4 separate regions of the Homo sapiens genome follow, and regions 2, 3 and 4 are each linked to region 1. The links are contacts of gene promoters, found by promoter capture Hi-C in blood cells and fetal thymus (Javierre and others, 2016). All regions are on one chromosome and are shown on one strand. Each heading gives the region's core, a stretch centred on a gene start or on the middle of the fragment in contact. The rest is flanking DNA. Distances are from core to core; before and after follow the strand shown. Region 1 holds the start of LY6S-AS1 (LY6S antisense RNA 1). Region 2 overlaps LOC101928087 (a long non-coding RNA gene). Region 3 overlaps LY6K (lymphocyte antigen 6 family member K). Region 4 holds the start of SLURP1 (secreted LY6/PLAUR domain containing 1).

What was found. The method cuts DNA at HindIII sites, captures the fragments that hold promoters and counts their contacts. A CHiCAGO score of 5 or more calls a contact.
Region 2: a contact is called between a fragment that was not itself captured here and the fragment with the promoter of LY6S-AS1 in region 1, in 2 of 17 cell types (naive CD8 T cells and total CD4 T cells). The highest score is 5.2, in naive CD8 T cells.
Region 3: a contact is called between a fragment that was not itself captured here and the fragment with the promoter of LY6S-AS1 in region 1, in 1 of 17 cell types (total CD4 T cells). The highest score is 5.1, in total CD4 T cells.
Region 4: a contact is called between the fragment with the promoter of SLURP1 here and the fragment with the promoter of LY6S-AS1 in region 1, in 7 of 17 cell types (naive CD8 T cells, total CD8 T cells, naive CD4 T cells and 4 more). The highest score is 7.5, in naive CD8 T cells.

What each region holds. Positions count from the first base shown.
Region 1 is chr8:143,037,830-143,040,543 of GRCh38, forward strand. It overlaps LY6S-AS1 (LY6S antisense RNA 1), which reads left to right and starts at 1,380. Exons shown (of 6, transcript NR_149322.1): 1 at 1,380-1,740. RefSeq lists an enhancer at 1,052-1,603. The HindIII fragment of the contact is 8,465 bases long and covers 1-2,097 here.
Region 2 is chr8:142,639,561-142,642,274 of GRCh38, forward strand. It overlaps LOC101928087 (a long non-coding RNA gene), which reads left to right. Exons shown (of 2, transcript NR_134305.1): 2 at 879-1,088. Among named protein-coding and RNA genes, the nearest start is that of ARC, 26 kb to the left of the region's middle. The HindIII fragment of the contact is 1,766 bases long and covers 487-2,252 here.
Region 3 is chr8:142,703,471-142,706,184 of GRCh38, forward strand. It overlaps LY6K (lymphocyte antigen 6 family member K), which reads left to right. Exons shown (of 3, transcript NM_017527.4): 3 at 1-1,657. It overlaps LNCOC1 (lncRNA associated with ovarian cancer 1), which reads right to left. Exons shown (of 3, transcript NR_038925.1): 3 at 1-2,714. Among named protein-coding and RNA genes, the nearest start is that of LY6K, 4.7 kb to the left of the region's middle. The HindIII fragment of the contact is 690 bases long and covers 1,043-1,732 here.
Region 4 is chr8:142,741,042-142,743,755 of GRCh38, forward strand. It overlaps SLURP1 (secreted LY6/PLAUR domain containing 1), which reads right to left and starts at 1,365. Exons shown (of 3, transcript NM_020427.3): 1 at 1,287-1,365; 2 at 762-881; 3 at 1-235. The coding sequence starts at 1,344. The coding sequence ends at 102. The HindIII fragment of the contact is 7,810 bases long and covers 1-2,714 here.

The sequences.
Region 1 (2,714 bases), core at 130-2,629:
ACACACTGCAACTCCTGGAGGTCGGGCAGGGGCAGGATGTCCAGACAGTGGACGCATGAGTGGGGAAGCCTTCAGCCACCCTGACTCCACCTAGGAGGTGCCCCAAGGCAGAACCAGCAGCTGAGCCTGGCCAGCCCCGGCAGCGATGAGAGACAGTAGGTTTTGGGGTGACCAACAGGGAGCCCCAGCAGGAGCCCAGCAGGAGAGAGAAGCTGGATATTGATCCTGCTGGCCCCTCCTGCAGTCCGCAGGACTGTCCACAGCCCTCGCTCCTCTTAAGCAGCTCACCTGCCTTGGTGGCCCCTCCCCTCCTGGCCCCTCCTTTTGGGCCTGGGTTGGGGGTGGCAGGGGTCCTGTCCCTGCACCCGGAGTGGAGTGGGATATGGCACTGGAATGTTTCTAGGCAGCCCACTCCTGTAAGAGGGCCTGGGGCTGGGCCCAGTAGTTCACACCTGTAATCGCAGCACTTTGGGAGGCTGAGGCAGGAGGATCGCTTGAGCCTCGGAGTTCGAGAGCAGCCTGGGCAACATAGAGACCCCACTTCTACTTGAGAGACACACAGAGAGAGAGAGAGGGAGGGAGGGAGAGAGGGAGGGAGGGAGAGAGAGAGGGAGGGAGGGAGAGAGAGAGGGAGAGAGGGAGGGAGGGAGAGAGAGAGAGAGAGAGAGAGAGAGAGAGAGAGAGAGAGAGAGAGAGAGAGAGAGAGAGAGAGAGAGAGAGAGAGAGGGAGAGAGAGAGAGAGGGAGGGAGGGAGGGAGGGAGAGAGAGAGGCTTCTGGTAAATGCTCCTATTTTGCAAACTCTCTTCCTATTTTGTGATTAGGATGCTCCATCAGTTTCTGCCACCAGCTTGCTGGAGACGCTGCGTGTCCCTGACTCCTCTCAAAGGGTGAAAAGCTCAGTCGCACCCGAGACCTGCTCCTCAGGCAGAGGATGAACTGAGTCCCCGCCCCACCGCCCGTCTGGCCTCTGTGAGAGTGGCGTGCAGGCTGACCCTGGAAGCAGAGGGACATTCGAACGGGCCGGCGGCCTTCTCCCCGCTAGGCTGGGCTCCGGGGTGGGCGGAGAGTGGCCGCCACAGGCCATCAGCGTCCGGGGTTCTGGAAGCAGGGAGGGCAGAGGCTGGCCCAGCCTATGGGAGACCCTGCAGAGGCGTGGCCTCCAGGCTAATCCTACCCCAGCTGCCCCAGGGCGGGATTTCTTTTCTTTTTTCCTTTAATCTCTTTATCTACAGGCGCCGAGGCTTAATGAGCTCCAGATGTCTCAACATACCAGGAGAGGTTTAGGATCCCCTGCCAAATACAAGGGAGATAAGAACGCACCAGACTTGCACAAACCAGAGCTGGTGACCCCCAGTTCCCTTTAAATCAGCGACATGTCATTACAAGGCGGAAGTCCTGCCCGAGAGGACAGTCCCCAGGCCTTGCTAAGCATGCGTGGTATCAAGAGGTGCATTGAGGCGCTCCTGCAGCCTCCTCCCGGCACGGGACTCCTCACAACCCCCAGCCTCAGCTTCCCTGACAGGGCAGGGGCTCACTCTTCTCCACTCCGGGCCAGGAACGCAGCCTGCTTGCCTTTTGTCCAATTGGGTGCTCTTTCTTTGCGACTGATACAAAGTGGGAACAAACTCCGCTTCCGGTGATGCCCGGGCCCCAGGAGGCTGGGGGAGAAGTGCACGCTGCCCAGCCTTCAACCTGAACTGCCCCCAGCACTTCCGAGCCCCGACCCCTGCAGCTGTGAGGTGAGGTGGGGAGGGGGCGGCCTGCGGGGAGGGGGCTGCCTGCGGGGAGGGGGCTGCCTGCAGGGCGGGCCGTGTGGGTCCCCCGAGCGTGGGGGACCAGTGACGTCAGGCAACATTTCTCCAAAGGCTCCCTCACCTTGTCCTTTGGCATCTGGGGTGCTCAGAGGAAGGGGGAAGCCGGGAGGGTGTGGAGAGGGTCACTGGAGAGGGGAAAGGCCAGAGTGATCCCCTTGGGGACGAGGCAGAGGAAAAGCTGTGGAGACCTAAAGAGAAGAGGTGGGGTGCGCCTGGGCCTCTCAAGTTTGTTTCCCAGAACCAGGGAAGGTTACAGTGGAAGGGAGGACCCTGTGGGGAAGAAGCTTCCAGAGACCTTCTGGAGAGGTGAGCCAAAGGCGAGCCATGGCCAGAAACCCCAGGCCTGCTGCAGTGGAGAGTCAGTGCTGCAGGAGGCTTGGGAATCAGGGCTGCCCTCCTTGGGCTGAACCCTCTATCTAGGGGACAATGGCCCTGGGCAAAAGCACTGCTTTCTGGGCCCCCTGGAGGGTAGGGCATGACACTGTGGTGCTAGAGGCAGGGGGGACATGAGGAGGTAGACGAATGTCCTGAGTCACCAGGTACAACCACTGCACCCCATTGTGACTGCCCCTGTGTCCGACACAGATTTGGGGGGTCTGGAATGTCCCTTGAGCTCCTTAGGCACTCATGAATTTCTAGTTGAGCAAATAAAATGTCCAAGATGCCCAGTTTGATCTGAATCTCAGATAAACAACAAATAGTCATTTTTACCAATGTTTGGGACATACTTATGCTAAAAATTGTTTATCTGAAATTCATATTTAATTGGGCATCTTACCCCATTGACCCTAATTAGCAAATCACATCCAGGAGTACAGGGCATGGCTGGGTGGTGGCTGTCACACTGTGCAGTCAGAGGGACCAGGACGTCTTGGATGCAGGCGTCTGGCCAGCGTGGA
Region 2 (2,714 bases), core at 120-2,619, 400 kb before region 1:
CTTCCACTCAGCACTGCTTGGTTTTCAATACTCAAACGGCCTATAGATTTATGTCTACAGCTTCAACACTGGCTCAGCCCAGCGCTCATGGTGGAGCAGCAGACTGGGGATGGAGGGCCAGCACCAGCAGAGAAAAGGGAGGACAGGGCGGGCCACTTGGCCCCAAGAGACACACAGCAGCTGGAGCAGGTTTACAAACTAGATCTGGGTGACACAACCATCCTTTTTAAAGGTTTTAACGGAATCATAGTGACATTTTGATCCCATTTATGAACCGGGAAGCCAGGCTCACCAGCCCACTGCACCATTTAATGTCAGCAAATAAAATTCAGTCAGTAAGAAACCCCCATAAGCCCTTGTTGAGCTGCAATAAAGCAGTTCTTTCGACTTCTGTCCTTTGCAAGCCGTGGACACAGCCCTGCTCTTACATAAGCGACCCTCATTGGTGACCCTCTGTGAGGGGCAGGGACCCCACCACAAACAGAAAGCTTGTGTGTAGGCTGAAGGGGTCATGGGGCACGGGAGGGGTGCTGAAGTTTGAGGCTTTAGGTCCAGTGAGGAGCAGACTCTGGTTTTAGGAATAAACTGTGATGAGGCCACTGGCAAGGGTGGTGGGCAGAAGGCCTGAGACCACTTGCCAGAGGGAGACCCTGGCCCCAGGGTCCCACAGAGCAGGGGCTGGGCTGAGCCCTGGGGAGGCCAGAGCATTCAGCACCCATGAGGGGCCTCAGAGACCCCCGGTATGCCCCCTGTCACACAAGAATCCTCCAAGGCCTCCCAGCTGGGGCTCCTCCCTCTTAGAAGCTGCCCTGAATTCTGTCCTGCTCCCCTAATCTTGAGCCCTGGGGTGGGGGTTTTGAATAATGTCTGTCATTCAGTTCAACAGCAAGGTACGGTGAGAGCTGGCGGCTTCATTTTTGGAACCAGGGAGAGAGAGAGAGAGAGAGGTTTATGAGAGACCTCATGAGACAGCTCATGATGGAAGTGAGACTGAGTTGCAGTGAACCCTGTCACTGAAGAGACAGCCTTCACACTGTGTCTTGCAGGGGAAAATACAACTCTTTATTAAAATTTATTGCCCTGAAAAATGGGCAGTGTTACTTACTTATTCTGGGTAAAGTGGGTTGCAGGTGGCAGGGCTGAGCCTTGGGAGGGCAACCCTGTCCACAGGCCAGAGGCCCCTCTGTGCAAAGGAGCAGGTGAGCCTGGGGACCTGCCACCTCCCCATGCCTGTCATGGTTGCCACCCTGCCCAGTTCAGGGTGTCTCCTCACCAAGAGTCAGGGTCACGGGAGGATGAACCCAGCTCCTGGTCCCACAGATTTGGGCTCAGTTCTAGCGTCCCCTCTCCCTAGCTGTGTGTCTTCAGCGGCCCCTGCCCACTGAGCTCAGCCCCCACCTGCAATGAAGAGGTGACAGCAGCTGCCACCACCACCCCCAAGTCCAGATTTCTCCCCATCCCCAGCCTGGCCAGGCCTTCCTGCCCTGCAGATGGCTGTAAGGACGGCATGGCATCCAAGCCCAGGGCTTGGAGCCCACAGAGTCCCTGGCTTCCCTCAGGGACCCCAGGGGAACTGCAGCACCACATGGGCAAGATCTGGGCTTTGGCCACCCCCTTAAGAGAGAGGACCACCTGGCCCACTCGTGTCTGGGAGGAGGCTGCCAGCCAAGGGAGAGCCTGGGCAGTAGCCTTGGGGAAAGGTGGGCAGGTGGCTCTCCCACCCAGGGAAGGGCCGGCATCTGGGCCATCCTTATGGCCTGCAAAGCCCTGGACACCTCCCCTGCCCTCTGCAGGCAGCAAAGCCTTTGGCATCTGAGACCTGGGCAGGAGGAAGAGAAATGGGTGTGAGAAGAAGGGGAGGCTGGTGGAATGGGGGCATCTGCTCAAGGCTCATCCCAGGACCTCAGAAGGGAAGTGGGGAGAAAACAGTTCCTCGTGAGGCAGCCCCTTTCCACTGGCCCTGCAGCTGCACATCAGACCCAGCCTCTGCCTGCCCCTCCCTGTGTCCAGCAGAGCTGACCTCTGAGCCAAGCCTGCAGTCAGCTTGTCTAGGGTGACGATGCGGCTACGTGAGGGTGCCGGTGGCTCCTGTCAACCTTAAAAAGATCAGGAAATATGGAATATGGTTAAATGTAATTTATTTGCACACAATGCTTGAGAAAGGCCACCTGGGTACACAGATTCCAAAGAATGGAAGTTGGTGCTCCCAAGTGGAGAGGTTTAGGGGTCATTTATATAGATAACGTCTGGGAAGCTTAGTGGGGCTTCAACACTGTCCACACAGGCCCACACATCCAGTTAGGTGGGGCTGTGTTCCTTTCGGGAGAGGCATATTGAACACAGAGGGTAGAAGAGTCATGGGGTCTTCTGTGCCTTCTGGTCTGAGTTGGGTGCAAGATAATACAGAAAGGTCCACAACCGGGAGAGGAGGAGGGCTTCTCTCTCATGTCATTGACTATTAATTGTGAACCTCAAAAACCTGAGACAGGTCTCAGTTAATTTAGAAAGTTTATTTTGCCAAGGTTGAGGACACACACCCATGATACAGGCTCAGGAGGTCCTGACGACATGTGCCCAAGGTGGTCAGACCACAGTTTGGTTTTATACATTTTAGGGAGACATGAGACATCAACCAACATGTGCAAGATGAACATTGGTTCGGTCTGGAAAGGCGGGACAACTGGAAGCAGGGAGGGGACTTCCAGGTCTTAGGT
Region 3 (2,714 bases), core at 138-2,637, 330 kb before region 1:
GTTTGACTTCCCAGGGTCTTGGGATGGGAGAGTGGGGATCAGGTGCAGTTGGCTCTTAACCCTCAAGGGTTCTTTAACTCACATTCAGAGGAAGTCCAGATCTCCTGAGTAGTGATTTTGGTGACAAGTTTTTCTCTTTGAAATCAAACCTTGTAACTCATTTATTGCTGATGGCCACTCTTTTCCTTGACTCCCCTCTGCCTCTGAGGGCTTCAGTATTGATGGGGAGGGAGGCCTAAGTACCACTCATGGAGAGTATGTGCTGAGATGCTTCCGACCTTTCAGGTGACGCAGGAACACTGGGGGAGTCTGAATGATTGGGGTGAAGACATCCCTGGAGTGAAGGACTCCTCAGCATGGGGGGCAGTGGGGCACACGTTAGGGCTGCCCCCATTCCAGTGGTGGAGGCGCTGTGGATGGCTGCTTTTCCTCAACCTTTCCTACCAGATTCCAGGAGGCAGAAGATAACTAATTGTGTTGAAGAAACTTAGACTTCACCCACCAGCTGGCACAGGTGCACAGATTCATAAATTCCCACACGTGTGTGTTCAACATCTGAAACTTAGGCCAAGTAGAGAGCATCAGGGTAAATGGCGTTCATTTCTCTGTTAAGATGCAGCCATCCATGGGGAGCTGAGAAATCAGACTCAAAGTTCCACCAAAAACAAATACAAGGGGACTTCAAAAGTTCACGAAAAAATTGAATTAAAAGATAAAAATTAAAAAATGTTTTATTTCTCAGCATGAGCTCCATCAAGGTCGAGACGCTTCTGCAAGTAATGGTACCAGCCATTCAGTTCATCCCTAAAGAATTGGGCACCCTGGGAATTTAACCATGCCACTTCAGTCTTTGTGACGTTATTAACTGAAGAAAAGTGGGTGCCCTTTAAAGATTTTTTAAAATTATAAAACAGAAGTAACCAAATCAGGCCTGGAAGGTGTATGCCTAGTGATTTCCCATTGAAACTCTCACAAAACTGGCCTTGTTTGATGAGAGGAATGAGCAGGAGCATTGTCATGGTGGAGAAGGGCTCTCTGGTGAAGCTTTCCGGGGTGACGATTTCCTGGGTGTTTTCCTGCTAAATCGTTGGCTGACTTTCTCTATACACTCTCATAATAAGATGTTACTGTTCTTTGGCCCTCCAGAAAGTCAATAAGCAAGATGCCTTGAGCATTCACAAAACGGTTGCCACGACCTTTGCCCTTGACATGTCTGCTTTTACTCTGATGGGACCACGCCCACCTCTAGGTAGTCATTGCTTTGCTTGTGCTTTGCCTTCAGGAGTGTACTGGTTAAGCCACATTTCATCTCCGGCTATAATTATATGAAGAAATGCTTCAGGATCTTGATTCCACTTGTTTAAAATGGCCATAGAACGCTTTTCTCTTATCTGCAGCTGAGCTGGGAGAAAGTTTTGGCACCCACCGAGTGGACAGTTTACTCAACTTTAATTTCAGTCAGAATTGTGTAAGCTGAACACCTTGGGATACCTACAGCGTTGGCTATTGTTTCTGCTGCTATTAATCAGTCCTCTTAAATTAGGGCACAAACAAGATGAATTGTTTCCTCACAGACTGATGTGGCTGGCCTGCTGCTGTGGACTTCCTCTCCAACATCATCTCTTCTCTTCTTCCAATGAGTTATCCACTTACTTAAATTGCTGATTTCTTTGAGGCATTGTCCCTATAAACTTTCAATAAATCATCAATGATTTCACCATGTTTCCAGCCAAGCTTCACCATCAATTGCATGTTTGTTCTGGTTTCAATTTTAGCAGAATTCATGTGTCTGATAGGAGCTCTGTTCAAACTGTTGTCTTATACTTCTTAGGGCCTCAAACTAGATCCTGTTCGGACGTGTTTTCACAAGTTAGTACAAGTTTATTTTGTTGCAAAACAATTTGAAATTCATGCATTCTTTTTCCCAATATGCATTTTCCATGAACATTCTAAAGATCACTCATCCTTCCTCCCCATGTTGTCTATTCAATGTCAGGGAGGATGTGACCCCACCCACTGCTCACCTTTGTCTCCCTTCTGTCCCCACCATCCTGGCCAGCCACTGCCTGGTCTAATACCAGAGGCTGCTGGGTGGGGAAGCCTGGGGAACCTTCCAGATAGAGTTTCTTCGCTATTCCTGAGGCATGGGGAAAAGGCTCATCTCAGTCACATCTGAACACTTCGAACCTGAGGCCAAAGTCCATTCTAGGGGCAGTGGGCAAGGAGGGTCCCAGCAACTCAGGACCAGATAGGACCACCAGCACCTGTCAGGCTCTGCCTGTGTGTCCATCTTTTTGCCCGTCACAGGCTGGTGTTCACATCCTGCCATTCACACCAGCACCCAGAAACAGTAGCCCCAGCTGCTTCCAATTCGCAGCCCTGGGCTTGAGTTTGGGGAGCATTACTTTCATTAAGGCAGGCAAAAGTGGGAACTTCATTCAGAAAGAGCAAGTGAGGTAGGAGGTCAGCCACATGAGAGAGTTTCCATGGCAGCCTTCCATTAGAGTCTCTTCAAATGAAGGATGTAATCTGTGATGTAAAATCATAGCAAGTCAAGAAATGTGAATACGGAAAAATTCGAAATTGGGAACTGCTGGGTCTCTGGTAACACTAGGAGCACTCCCAATTACTTGAGTAAGGGAGATAGAAAATTATTGCAGGGTTAGGAATTAGAATGGATCAAGGAGTTTGCTGTCTCCAGTGTGATAGATGCT
Region 4 (2,714 bases), core at 115-2,614, 300 kb before region 1:
TGCCACAGCAGCAGGAAGCAGGGGGAGGTGATCACAGGTGGAGCCAGGCCCCGTCAGAGAGGAGGTGCCTGAGGAGCACCTTCCGCCCTGCCGCCCTGGGTTCAGAGTTCCGAGTTGCAGAGGTCTCGGAAGCAGCAGAAGATCAGGTGGGCGGCCCCGATGCTGTCGGGGTCGGTGGCCACACAGGAGCTGGAGCAGGAGCGGGTCACCACGGGGCTCTGGTTGAAGGGGTACTCTGCAGGGTGGGCCAGTGTCAGAACCCTCACTCCCCTGCAGCGCCTGCCTGCTGCTGCACTGCTCCCAGCCGCCGTCGCCTGACCTCACCCTCCCTGTGATCCCTGTTCCCAATAGTCCACATCTGTGAAGCCACCCAGGGCCCAGCCCTCCTCTGACTGTGACCTGTTCATGAATTATTAGGCCTTGTCAGACCTCTGAAGTGCCTGCGCTGAGATGGGAGCCCGAGCCCAGAGGCTGTGGCAACACCACCCAGTGGGTCTGTGTCAGAGCTGGGGTTTGAGCCCCCCAGGGTACCCCGGCCATTAAGCCCCACCCACCTCCAGCGCCTGGTGCCCCAGGACTGGGTCTCTGAGGGGGCTGTGCCACCCTCGTGGAAGGCACCCCTGCCAAGGTGTGGCAGCCTGTTCTGCCCATCCCACCTGCTGCCTTTTGGGCCGGGAGGAGCACCAGCAAAGGAGGGAGGCACTTGGGGGAGGTGGCCCTGACTCCAGTGCACCCAGGGCTGCCGTGGGGCCTGGCCTCACCTGCCTCCACCGTCACCAGCGTGGTCATGCAGGCTGTGTCCTCTGGCTTGCAGCGGGTAATGGTCCTGCAGGAAGCACTGGTCATGGGCTCCTTGCAGGTGTAGCACTTGAGGGCCTCACCTGGGTGAGGGATGGGGGCAGAACCTCATCACCTGACCTCGGTGGCCTCATCCTGGAACCAGGAGGCAGGGGCTGAAGGAGTCTCGCTGACATCTTTCAAGGCCCCGGGCAGCCCTTCAAGGGGCCTCTCTGGCAGCTTTCTCTAACTGAGCTGAGCCACAGACTTGAATGCTGCATCCCTCCACCAAGCCTCAGTCTCCCTTCCTGCAGAGTGGAGCCGTGACCCCTGTCCCAGGGTGAAGCTGGGCTCTGGGACCCAGGAGGCTCACTGAGAATGAGGAGGGTGAGCCTCATGGAGGCCTAAGGAGGCTCTCAGCCACAAAGCACCCCCAACAGCCCCATCCCCCTAGGAGGTGGGCAGACAAGCTCAGAGGCAGGGTCCCCACCAGCCTGCGGCCCACTCACCACAGCCCATGCTCCAGGCTGCCACGAGCAGCAGCTGCACAGCCCAGCGAGAGGCCATTGCTCCGTGCTCAGAAGTGATGAGAGGTAGCCAGCCTCACATCAAGGATTTATACCCAGGCCCTTGGGCACCGGCTTCTGGGCGGTGGCAGAACCGGCCGTGTGAGTCAGGAACGTGGTAAAGGGCCCAGTGGGGAGGCAGCTGGCAGGAACATGGCAGACGGGCAGGGAGCTGGATCTGGGAGCTCTGTCTGAGGACGATGGCCAGGCCTCTGCTTGCACACCTCCAACACTGGGGAACTCACTGTTCCTCAGCCATGTCCAGTGGTCCTGGGACAGCTCTGACAGAGAAGGCCTTTCCTGCTGAGCTCAGACTGCCCCTCTGATGAGCCCCCATGTCCTGGCTGTGCCTCTGGGGTTCACATAGGCCACCCAGCCCCAGCCTGGGGGACCCTTAAGACCCAGGTTCAGTGTAGCCTCTGCCCTTGTTGCTCTAGCCCCGCCTGGCACCCCTTCCCTGCAGCCTGGCCTGCAGCCCTCTCCACAGACCTCTACCTGGTCTGTGTACACCTGATACACACCTGCAAAGTAGAAACCAGAGGTAGGAAGCAGGTGTCAGGTGAGGGTAGCATGGGCCAGCTAGACCACTCTCAGGCTGACAAGGTTGGGCCCAGGAGTGGCCCCTCATCACTGCCAGCCCCTTCCCACTAATGGCCTTTAGACCAAACCTGAGTTTCTTGATTTTAGGCGCCTGACAATAAGGTTCTGCTCACCCTCCAGCCTCCTGGCCTGACTGTGTTGTCTGCTCTTTACTGCGTGCCCCCCACGACACCCTGTTCCACACGCATGCCTGCCTATGCCATACCGCTCAATGACCACATTGCCTGGTCTCCCATCTGATGTCCCACATCTTCCCCATGCTGTGAGACCCACTAAGGTGCCCCTCTCCACAGTCCTTCCAGGTATACCAGCCTCTCTGGTTTCTCTGTCCTGTGATGTCCCAATGGGTGGTTGTATAGATGGATGAGTTGATGGATGGATGGATGGGGGATGGATGAATGGGGGATGAATAGGCGATGGATAGGGGATGGATGGATAGATGGGTGGGGGATGGATGGGTAAATGAATGGGAGATGGATGGGTGGATGCATGAGTGGATGGGTGGATGGATGGGTAGATGGATTAGTGGGGGATGAATATGGGATGGATGGATGGATGGTAAGAGATGGATAGGAAATGGGTGAAGGATGTATGGGTGGATAAGTTGGGGATGAATGGAGGATGGGTGGGGGATGGATGCATAGATGGATGGATAGGTGGATGGATGGATGGATGGGTGGATGGATGGGTAGATGGATGAGTGGGGGATGAATATGGGATGGATGGGGGATGGATGGTTGGATGGATGGGGGATGGATGGGAAATGGGTGG